Regions from separate parts of the Homo sapiens genome. Here all the other regions are linked to region 1. The links are contacts of gene promoters, found by promoter capture Hi-C in blood cells and fetal thymus (Javierre and others, 2016). All regions are on one chromosome and are shown on one strand. The core of a region is centred on a gene start or on the middle of the fragment in contact, and the rest is flanking DNA. Distances in the headings are between cores, read along the strand shown. Region 1 holds the start of H3C6 (H3 clustered histone 6). Region 2 has its middle 13 kb from the start of TRQ-CTG6-1. Region 3 has its middle 2.3 kb from the start of TRV-AAC1-5. Region 4 holds the start of TRD-GTC2-6 (tRNA-Asp (anticodon GTC) 2-6).

The links. The method cuts DNA at HindIII sites, captures the fragments that hold promoters and counts their contacts. A CHiCAGO score of 5 or more calls a contact.
Region 2: a fragment that was not itself captured here is called in contact with the fragment with the promoter of H3C6 in region 1 in 1 of 17 cell types (M2 macrophages); the score reaches 6.9 in M2 macrophages.
Region 3: a fragment that was not itself captured here is called in contact with the fragment with the promoter of H3C6 in region 1 in 1 of 17 cell types (monocytes); the score reaches 5.1 in monocytes.
Region 4: a fragment that was not itself captured here is called in contact with the fragment with the promoter of H3C6 in region 1 in 1 of 17 cell types (naive CD8 T cells); the score reaches 6.0 in naive CD8 T cells.

Annotation. Positions count from the first base shown.
Region 1 is chr6:26,223,623-26,226,488 of GRCh38, forward strand. It overlaps H3C6 (H3 clustered histone 6), which reads left to right and starts at 1,513. Exons shown (of 1, transcript NM_003532.3): 1 at 1,513-1,994. The coding sequence starts at 1,533. The coding sequence ends at 1,943. RefSeq lists enhancers at 1,523-2,139, 2,140-2,755. The HindIII fragment of the contact is 11,157 bases long and covers 1-2,866 here.
Region 2 is chr6:27,776,833-27,779,698 of GRCh38, forward strand. No RefSeq gene overlaps it. Among named protein-coding and RNA genes, the nearest start is that of TRQ-CTG6-1, 13 kb to the right of the region's middle. RefSeq lists a silencer at 1,051-1,110. The HindIII fragment of the contact is 2,981 bases long and covers 1-2,853 here.
Region 3 is chr6:27,754,381-27,757,246 of GRCh38, forward strand. No RefSeq gene overlaps it. Among named protein-coding and RNA genes, the nearest start is that of TRV-AAC1-5, 2.3 kb to the left of the region's middle. The HindIII fragment of the contact is 1,871 bases long and covers 520-2,390 here.
Region 4 is chr6:27,479,543-27,482,408 of GRCh38, forward strand. It overlaps TRD-GTC2-6 (tRNA-Asp (anticodon GTC) 2-6), which reads left to right and starts at 132; the gene lies at 132-203. RefSeq lists a silencer at 185-244. The HindIII fragment of the contact is 3,440 bases long and covers 1-2,866 here.

The DNA.
Region 1 (2,866 bases), core at 263-2,762:
TGCAAAATAGACACTAACTTGAAAGGTGCAATTGTATCAATCCTGTGGTTAGCAGAATTTTGATGAATGCCCTAAAATAGGGCAGGTTTAACAGAATTCAGGGAATGAGCAGGAATGCACAAAGCATCCTTTGTCTCCTCTCCACTCCAGCTTGCAGACATCCGCGGGCATTTGCGGGCAGTGATAAATTTGGTTTAGCCGTTTCCCCTCCCTGGAGGACGGGGGCTCCAGCATATTCATGATGTCAATCGCCTTGGACTACATGCCAGCGTCATTGCGAACCTGCTACACTTTACAAAATAGCTTTCCAATGAGAAAGAAAACCTACTGGGAAAGAAAAACAAAAAGAAACTAGACCTTGCAACGGGCACGCACGCGCACTATCCCTCTCTGAAATATTTATAGTACGCTTACACAAACGCGAACTTGTAAATCAAAACTCTGCCTGAACCAAAGTAGCCAATAGATTAAAAGTATGTAAATTAGGAATTCCCAAACTGCTCTTTTTATTGGCTAGGAAAAGAACACCTTACAGGGAATCCGATAGGTTAATTCACAATAGTGTTAGGCTGTAATGTCATTCTTTAAGAATCTTTTCCAGTAAACATTTGTTACTTTTTCAAAGTAATTGGGAGCTGTTGAGTGTGGAAGCGAAAACCAAGTTAAGAAGTCCTGTTATTTGGGTGAGTCCAGTTCCTATAAAAGTTCTGTTGGATGTGTCTTAAATTGTTCGGTGCACCTCAGCTCTCTCCCGCAGGGATCCGGAGAAACTGCGCCATTGTTGTCTTACAGAGAAACAACCTTCTAACACTCTCTTCGCCGCCATCTTTTTCAAGATTTTAAATTGAAAATACTTTTTTTGACGGCTCTTGCCATTATGTCTGGACGTTTTAATTTCAACAAAACGAAATAATAGTGTTAAGTTCTTTGAGTCAAACCCGATATTACAGAGGTAGGGATTCCAGGATATTAGAATTTTACTATAACACAAATGAAACACAAAGTTCCTTATGCTTAACAGTGTATCTTAGAAAACCTTGTTTGAGTGAATTAGCCTTGTACTCTATAATGAAACGAGGAATCATTGAGAGATACTTAGGCAACGGATTTTAAATGAGTGAATAAGGAAGGGAAAAACTTCAGGAAAATGCAGAAAAAAGCAGCGGAGATTTTGGAAAAAAAATTCTAAAGCACTTTCTAACGCAAACACATTCGATTTTTTATAGCTAAACAGGATAACAGATCAGTCTATTAAGTTAAATGATCAATGTCTTTGCAGGTCATGGTCTACGTGAAACATCAAAGAAACCTGTAACGGAAAACGACTTGTTTGAAAGAGCCAGTTCTCTATCCAAATTTACCAATCAGAATCTTGCACTGAAAAAATAAACCAATCGTGAATCTCTACGGCCACTTCCGGAATTTAGCAACCGATCACTAACAGGGATCGTCCACAATCCAATCAGAGTGATTCTGTTCCTATATAGAGGGGCAAACCAATCTTCCTAACTCATTTACTTTGCAGATGAACTATGGCGCGTACTAAGCAGACGGCTCGTAAATCCACAGGCGGTAAAGCACCGCGCAAACAGCTGGCCACTAAGGCAGCTCGCAAGAGCGCTCCGGCCACGGGCGGCGTGAAGAAGCCCCATCGCTACCGCCCTGGCACCGTGGCTCTGCGCGAGATCCGTCGCTACCAGAAGTCTACCGAGCTTCTAATCCGGAAGCTGCCGTTTCAGCGCCTGGTGCGAGAAATAGCTCAGGACTTCAAGACCGACCTGCGCTTCCAGAGTTCCGCGGTGATGGCGCTGCAGGAGGCCTGCGAGGCCTACTTGGTGGGGCTTTTCGAGGACACCAACCTGTGCGCTATTCATGCCAAACGCGTGACCATCATGCCTAAAGACATCCAGCTTGCCCGCCGCATTCGTGGGGAGAGGGCGTGAATTGTTTTGAGTACAAACCTTAAATCCAAAGGCTCTTCTCAGAGCCAACCACTTTGTCCGTGAAAAGGGCTGTAATCCTTTGAGACGCATTAGACCACTAAACTGCACTGATCCAAATAGACATTTGAAATAGTGGCATTCAGTTCCCTCGATGCTTCATTTAAATTTCCAAATTTAAGCGCTCCCTCAGGTTTTCGCCTAGGGCTGGGCCTCCCTACGCTGTTCTCCATTGGTTTAGCTGGCTTTGTTTTGCTGTTCAGGCCCTCTGCTGCTTTCTTGTACATTGTTCTCGTTTTCTAAACTCCTGGCCACTTAATTGTACCCTGCTTAACCCATCCTCTTGTTTTCTGGCTCAACGCTCTTTCATGTGGTGGCCTGCATTTTAGGTCTTAACTGCATAGGCTTTCAACGCCTTGGTTTTGCCTTTCCTTGATGTTTATTTGACCTTGCCCGAGGGGCCAGCGCTTTTGATCTGCATCAGGCTGCCTTACTCCACTAGTGTTTTGAGACCCAGCTACTTGCCGGCGACGGTCGGTGCCTTGGGTGCGGTCAACGTTACTCTCTGTGCGCCTGATACTGGTCTAAGGCTAAGGTTATTAGCTGGAACACCTAGACCCGTGGCACTAACACACAGCTCTTGCAGACTTGACAGCCTTGCATAGGTTCTAAACTGCAGGAGTCAAAGCAACGAAGGTGCAGATGGGTGTGTCTCAAACCTGAGTGCGAAAGGAAAATGCAGAAATCATGAGCCTTTTCAACTTTCCAGTTGATATCTTTTGTTTGCTTTTTTCTTTTCTTATTTATTTATTTATTTATTTATTTATTTATTTATTTATTTATTTTGAGACGGAGTTTCGCCCTTGTTGCCCAGGCTGGAGTGCATTGGCGCGATCTCGGCTCACCGCAACCTCCGCCTCCCGGGT
Region 2 (2,866 bases), core at 113-2,612, 1.6 Mb after region 1:
CCATGGCTCCAAATCTAGTGGCCCCACGTCAGGTCCTGGTGGGACCTGGTTCAGTTTTGCTTAGGACTCATCTTGTCCACATGAACCATTCCAGCCTGCTTTCTCATGCTCTTATTCTGGGATATCTTCCTAACCCCAGTATATCTGCCTCAGTGTCTCACCCTGTCTTTTTAGAAAAGGAAAAAAAAAAAAAAAGAAAGAAAACGTAAATGAAATTGGTGGAGAGTAATGGCCACCAATCCTATGCCTGACCTGGAACTGGAAACACAAGGCTTTCCTGAAGACAGAGAAACTCTGAGAAAACGGGAAAAGCAAGTTGGTGAAAAGAGCAAAATAAAAGTTTCAGAAGGGACTTTCTTGACATAGCACAGGATGAAGGAGTATCAAAGGTCTCTGTTTGGGCCCTTGGCTGGGAAAGCCCACATTCGCTGAAAGTGAAAGCTGTCCGCAGACATAACACCAAAGGGTTAGGGTAGGAAGCCCCTTTTTATGAATTCAACGGCAGGGATAGGGGTGGGGATAAGGTGGGGCTGCGTGGGTACACCAGGCGCCCGGAAAGCTGCAAAAGGCGTTAGGTCAATATGCAAAAATACTTCTAGGTCAATACGCAAAAATACTTCTAGTGTTGGGAAAGAAATTTTATTGGGGACAGGAAACAAGCGAACTGGCTAATATACTTTCTCTCTAAGGAGAGTAGTCTGACTTAATGCCTTCCTCGATTCTCTCTAAGGGCTTCTGAGGGCTTTGCTTGACTTTTCTCCTGTTTCTGCTCCTGAGCCCAAAGCAGCTCTTAAAGAAAGAAATGTCAGGTTTTGAAGCATGTTTGGTAGATTTGGAAAGGGCAACTCGCAACTTGAAGGGGATTGTTGGAATCAACTGGTTCTAGAGTGAGCTGATCTTAAGAGGCCAAGAGGAAAAAAGAAAAACCGGGAAAGAAACAGTGAAAGAAAAACAGAAAGAGGCAAAACAGTGTAACAACAACAACAACAACAACAACAAAATGGCTGATCACCTGCATGATAAATAAGAAGAGTAGAAGCGTGTTTTCCGTTAGCAGAGTGGCGCAGCGGAAGCGTGCTGGGCCCATAACCCAGAGGTCGATGGATCTAAACCATCCTCTGCTAAAGAAGGGTGCTTTTTTTTTTTTTTTTCCCCCCCCCCTTCTTGAGGAATTACCTTCCACAGTTGTGGGGAGAAGATGGCCTCTAAATATATATTATATATATTATATCTCTCTCTCTCTCTCGCTCTCTCTCTCTTAAAAGTCCTTTCAGAGGCTGTATCTCACTTTTAGATATGTCTTCAGCATGTTCCTTCTCCTTTCTCCAAATGTTTGCGTAACTCCTTTCTTACTCATATCTTATTTGGAAAGGCATATCTTACTTGGGAAGAGGAGGTGACAATTCTCATGTTTACTTCCAACAAATTACCTATCTTCCAGTGAATAGAAAATACACTGAGGTTGAATATAATTTTATATTTTCTTGCACTCGAAGGCAAAACACTGTTACTGACTTTTGCCTGAGACCATTGGTTATTGTAAATCGTTATTGTCTTTTTGCTTCTACGGGAGCCTCCTGCTTCTTTTGCTCTTTTGTTCATCTCTATGCATGATTTATTAAATTCATTTCGTGTACTGTGAATTCTTCTCTAAAGCTATCTGTTACGATGGCCAAAAGACATCATTTATACCCTCCTCCTTCCATACTTACAGAAACTAGACACATGGAATGTTATGAGAAAGAGAAGCAACAATGAAGTTAAGTGTAAAATGGTTGATTCTACTTGGATAGATTTTTTTAAAAAATGTAAATGGTAGAAAACATAGGGGTACATTTAAAGCATTTTGTGAATCAGAATTCCATGGGCAAACTCAGAAGACCAATAATCTTTATTTTGTCTGCTTACCTTCTAGAAGCATTTTAACTAACTTTAAATGTCCAGGCATAAGAGATTGGTTGAATAAACTGTAACATGGACTCAAAGAGGAAGCGCTATGGGGCTACAAAAAAGATATAATTTCTAGGAGATAGTGTTAAGTAAAGAAAGTGCAGATGAATATTATAGTAGGCTACCTTTTTTCAAGAAGGAAGGGGAATTAAGAAAACATACACATACCTGTTTTTCTTTCTGAAAAGAAAACATAGTGAAGATAAACCAGAAAACAGTGAATCTGGCTACCTAAAATGGTGGTAAGAGACTTGGGGGAAATGGAGTGTAAGGGACATGGGACGCCACTTCTCTGAGTTTACCTTTTGTTATACCTTTAACTTTTGAAAGCATGTGAATGTTTTACTTTTTTTTTTTTTAACGGAAGAGGTTCTCTGTGTGAACATGTTGACTAAATACAAAAGGGTTATAAAAGGTCTTTGCTTCTTTAAAATTTCTGAGTCATCGTTTTGGCAAAATAAATAACTTATAGCAATCTGGAATTCCCAAAATCAAACATCGGTTTCAAAAATCTCTTCCCTGGCACCTGGCTTTTTGAATACTTCAGCGGGCCCCTGAAGTGTCCAGAAAAGACAGGTAAACAGGATTATTTGACACGTTTAGGTACATGGGATTGCCAAAATGATGCTCAATCTTCTTTAGGCTATATTTTTGTGAATAATACTAATATATATTTCAAAATTGTATGGGATTTCTAAAATAGTATAAGCTATTAATTATAGTTATGTTAAGTTATTGTAAACTGCAGAAACAACCAAATTTTCTTGTATAAAGCTACTAACCCAAGTAAAACAAAAACTTAATTAAATATCAAGAAAATAATTTCATGTTAAACCAGCTAATACTGAAATTGTTTAAAATAGTTTATAACCAATGCTTGATGCCATATTCCTGGGAAAACAAAGCTTCAGATATG
Region 3 (2,866 bases), core at 205-2,704, 1.5 Mb after region 1:
CTGTTCAAATAATAATAATAATAAATCTTACTGAGTTTCAAACCAAGGGTCTTTACTGTATTGGGCAAATGTGATAACCACAATACCAGTAAAACTTGCCTTTGGTCCCATGTCTCTTCTACAGGAAAAAAAAAATACAGTTTTTCCAGATGCCCCAGGTTCTATAATCTCAAAGCTGCCCTTTCTTCCCAGAAACTCTCACAGTGGTGGTACGTTTCTTGCCCTTGTACTTTTAGTGTACTAAAACCAACAGCCAAACTTTATCATTTTAGCAATCCAAGTATTCACCCATGAGCCCCAATTTCTTTGCAAATGCCAGGCAAGAAAACCTCAAGTAGATAGAGAAGTAGAGAGCAGATGATTTGATTTTTTTAAAAAAATTCTACCATAGTGTCCTTATCTTATCCATGCAACTTGTTCTGATCTTCATCTTTCTAGTGCCAGAAAATGACCCTTTTAGGAACCCGGACCTGTAAGACTGAGCTCTTGGGACTATTAGCATTTGTTACAGAGCAGGTAAGCTTCAGGATGAGATATACTGGGGAACAGGTACAAGGTTACAAGATTGGATTCTATGTCACAAATAATTATTTCTCTGGAATGTGACAGTTCAATGCTATTTGATTTAGAAAAGGAGGATAAAACGCTCGTGTATTTTTTTCTTTTCTTTGTTCTTCTCTCCCTTTTCACTGTCTTCCTCTATCTACTTTCACTGCACACCTAGAAGCAAGCTGCCTTCTTCCAGATTCCTCCTTATAACTTCACTTTGCATATAAACACCACACACTCTCTGTGCTTAGAGGTGGTGGTTGGGCTGCCAGACCAGTCTGGAGAAAGTCTGTGCTTACTTTTTCCTCTACTTAGTATTCTTTCTTCCATGGGTGCCAGGAACAGAGAGCCCCTTCTCACCTTGAGATCATGTGAGCTGGTAGTAGCTGGATCATGAATAATTGGAATGCTGTGGGTAACAACTGAAAGAAAGACTGTAATTCCCAATTAACAAATTAGACTGTATTTCCCAATTAACAAATCAAGACCAGATTAGCAGCAACAATGATCATTAAAAATATTGTTAAAGAAAAAAAGAAAGAAAAAAGATAAAAAATATTGTTAAACTGGACATAGTGGTGTACCTGTAGTTCTAGTTACTCTGGAGACGAAGTAAATCAGGAAGATCACTTGAGCCCAGGAGTTTGAGGTTGCATGTGCAATGATTGTGTCTGTGAAAAGCCACTGCCCTCCAGCCTGGGCAATATAGGGAGACTCCATCTCTAATTTAAAAAAAATTGTTGTAAACACATTTATTTCATATTAATTAAAATAAATTATTGGCTGGGCACAGTGGCTCATGCCTGTAATTCTAGCACTTTGGGAGGCTTAGGCGGGATGATCACTTGAGCCATGAGTTCGAGACAGCCTGGGCAACATTGCGAGATCCCCATTTCAAATTTTTTTAAAAAGAAAAATAAATTATTGAGCTACAAACAATGTGCCAGACAATTGTGACCCTATGTTGTCACTAGGAGTACCAGAGGCATGCAGGACAAGATTACACAATCCTAACTCTCAAGGAGAAGAAAGAGGAACATGAGCAGCCAATATGCCATAAGCAAAAAGTGGAGCAACAGACGTACAGATTGCGAAGCATTTGGATGGTAGTATAGAGAGGAGGCATCTTCTTAGTCCTTATGAACTGGCAGGGCAGATCTGGCAGGGATCTTTGGAGCCAAAATATCTGAGTACAATTCCTTCCTCTGCCACTTTCTCATCATATGTAGGGTTTCAGGCAAGCTATTTGGCTTCTTCATGACTCTGTCTGTGCTGGTAAAATGGATATGGATACAGTGTGTACCTCATAGAATTATCATAAACTCAATTAAGAAAAACTCCCTGAAGTGTTTCAGACAGTGCTCAACTTACAGAAGTAGTTACTGCTTTTATTTTTAGTATTACTTTTAGCCTTGTCAAGCCTCCTGAGTCAAGATCTATCCCTGTCATTTCGGGTTTACATTTGAGCAAGTTAAGGCTTGAACAATGTGCTGAGGTTATGCTAGCTAGGAAAGGACACCACCAGGTGTGTTTGTCTCCAGAACTGGTGTTCTTGACCACCATGCTATACTAGGTAGTTTTATAAACCCCTGTTTATGACAAAAAAAGATTATAGAGAATATTATGGACCTCCTTATTTCCATGATCCTACTTCAACAATTAGTCTCTCCTCCCTCTGCCAAGCCCCCATGATAATTTAAAGCAAATTTAGACATTTTCATCTAGCAACAGCTTTTTGTGGCATTTTCATAGCATATGCTTCCATTTAACTTTGTAGTTAATGAGGAAATTTGTTGAGCTGTTCTCCCCTGGGCGGGAGAGATGCCATGCAGGGAGTCCTAAGCTTCCCATTGTCCCTCAGATCAGTAAAGAAGACCAGCCCTAAGCTGCTGACCACAGGTTCATGGGACTCTTCTGAGGGAATGTGAGGCCCAGAACTTACGCTAGTGATTCTCCAGGTGGACTATTCCTAAGATTCCTTGCCATACCCCCTTCTAGTGCAGAGGGTCTCTGGTATGGCCCACAAGTCTTAATTTTTAGAAGCTTCCAGGTGATTCAGAAGCTGAGGACCTTTGGGAAGATTTTGACAATCCTTTCATTAATGACAAATTTGTTTCATCTTAAAAAACAAAACTTCATCCTTGTATGTGTGGAGGAGGACACTATAGTGAAATTAAAGAAAAAAAAAGTCAAATTATCTGCTCCCTCCATCTACCTGAGGTTTTCTTGCTTGGCATTTGCAAAGAAATTGGGCGCATGGGTGAATACTTTGATTGCTATAAAGAGTAGAGTTTGGCCGTTGATTTTAGTACACTAA
Region 4 (2,866 bases), core at 177-2,676, 1.3 Mb after region 1:
GGCGGAGACACGTTCGCTGAATTGCCTTGCGTATATTTGGTAGGGGAAACGTGTGACTACAGAGCAAAGAAAGATGGACAATAGCGAGTAACTTCACAGGGATTTCCTAAGAGCTCCATTTTCACGTCAATTCCTCGTTAGTATAGTGGTGAGTATCCCCGCCTGTCACGCGGGAGACCGGGGTTCGATTCCCCGACGGGGAGGAGGCTTAAACTTTTTTTTAGAAAAGCACACTTCCGGTAAACACAGTCTCTAGTCTTCTGGGCAAATGTTGGGTTCTCTTTTTCTTTAGCAGAGTTCTTTCAAACCAACGAAATACTGATCGCAAAAACCATAAGCTGTAGAAATCATGAGGTTCTGTAATAGCAAGAAAATTTCCACTCTGCACTGTAATCTCCATCACAGTGGAGAAACCGGGTAGATACCATCTTACCCAAGTGATTGAATCAGTATTGGGACGAATCTACATTATATACCTTTTTTACAGGATGTGCTCATGAGAGCACAACGTCACTTTTGTGGTATTCTTGGCAAAAATATGTAATCTAAATCAGAAAACATCAGACAAACCCATATTGAGGGAGATTTTAACAAAATAACTGACTTGTACGCCTCAAAAACTGCAATTACTTTTGCATCAACCTAGTAACAGGCAAGCAGGGAGGAAAAATAAATAAATAAATAAATAAATAAATAAACAAATAAATAAAATAACAAAGTTACAGAACACAAAGAAAGGCTGACTAAATAGTCCACATTATAGAAGATCTTAAAGATATGACAGCAACATATGGTCTGGAATTTTTATCTTAAAGGACATTATTGAAATAGTTGGTGAAATCTCAATAAAGTCTATAGATTTTATAATATTATGAATGTGAATTCCTGATTGTATTAATTGTTCTATGGTTATAGAACAAAATGTCTTTAAGAAAATTCACACCTATTTACAAAATACGTATTTAAGGGTAAGGGGAGGTATGTGTCTTCAAACTCACTGTCAAATAGTTCAGAAATATACATTTATGTATATATATGAGAGAGAGAAGGAAAAGAAAATATAGGAATATCCTTAATGTGCTAATATTGAGGGAATTGGGGTGAAGGGTGCTCAGGAATTATCTGTATTATTCATGTACTGTGTCTGTCAGTCTAAAATAATTTCAGAATGGAAAGTTAAAAGGAGAAAAGCCTAATAAAACTATAAATGAAAATATACGAATTAAAATGTAAAAGGGCAAATATACAATTTTGAACAATGCATATGACAAGAGTGACGACTACATTAATGAATAGGAATTTAGAACTGATGAAGGAGTGGGATTCAAAATGTTATAAGTGAGCAAGAAAATTCATAACATGTGACAAAAGCTACATAAAGAGTGAATGCCTGAAACAACATTGTTTCGTAATGATTACATGTTGGAATATGAAAACAAATGGTACTAAATTTCAAAACAGCAACGACAATATAAAATGGAAAGGTATGGCGAAATCCAAATCATTCTAAGCTCCTTTATAATAAGGTAGGAATTAGAAGTGTACCTAGTATATACCCTCGACCAACGCTGAATGGATGAATATTAAAAGCAATATTTTTGTGAGCCATAATCAAAGCCAACAGCATTGCTTCTTTAATGAAAGAATACTCTTCCAGCATATAACAATATGTCTGATTTTGTTTTAAAAATACTTATTGGCCAGGCGAGGTGGCTCATGCCTCTAATCCAAGCACTTTGGGAGGCTGAGGCGGGTGGATCACCTGAGGTCTGGAGTTCGATACCAGCCTGGCCAACCTGCTGAAACCCCATCTCTACTAAAAATACAAAAATTAGCTGGGTGTGGTGGCGGGCACCTGTAATCCCAGCTACTCGGAGGCTGAGGCAGGAGAATCACTTGAACCCGGGAGGCGGAGGTTGCAGTGAACCAAGATTGCAGCATTGCACTCCAGCCTGGGCGACAGAGCAAGACTCTGTCTCCAAAAAAAAAAAAAAGAAAAATAATTATTATTAACATTTTTGTCATGAAATTTTGGCCATCAAATTTAAAAGTTAATATTATTGTGCAACACTTTCAGCCAATGGATTCTTTTTTTCGTTAACACTATTGAACAGTAGAGTGATTGATGCCTCATCCTTTTCACCTAACATTGAATCTCGTTTGTCTCTATTACTTCCTTTTAATCTATTATTTCTTTTTTAATCTAGAAGAAAAATGATTCATCGTGGATAAGAACTATAAAGCAATTGTTTTGTTTGTTTGTTTGTTTCTGGCTTTTTTTTTTTTTTGAGACAGAGTCTCGCTCTATCGCCCAAGCTGCTGTGCAATGGCGCAATCTTGGCTCACCACAACCTCTGCCTCCTGAGTTCGAGCCATTCTCCTGGCTCAGCCTCCCGAGTAGCTGGGATTGCAGGCGTGTATTTTGAGTAGAGACAGGGTTTCACCACGTTGGCCAGGCTGGTCTTGAACTCCTGACCTCGTGATCTACCTGCCTCAGCCTCCCAAAATGCTGGGATTACAGGTGTGAGCCACCAAGCCCGACTTAAAGCAACTGTTTGAAGGCACTGATAAGCTGTCAACCCAGGCAAGGCTTGACAAACTACAATCCTTGAGAGAAGGGAAGCACATTATATGAGTTTGCACATTTGAAAGTGCTTTCCTCCTGAAGGTGTGTCCCGTATTGCACCATTGTGGAATAGACCTCATGTGGAAAGAGGCAGTTGTGCTGGACTAAGGAGATACTGGTCAGAGTTTGGGGCTACCAACGTGCATAGAACTTGATGGTCAAAATTCAAGTGATGAGGGAACCACAGAGAAAGATCTCAAATTTGTATTATAAATTCTCCTTATATTACTGGCTAATTCC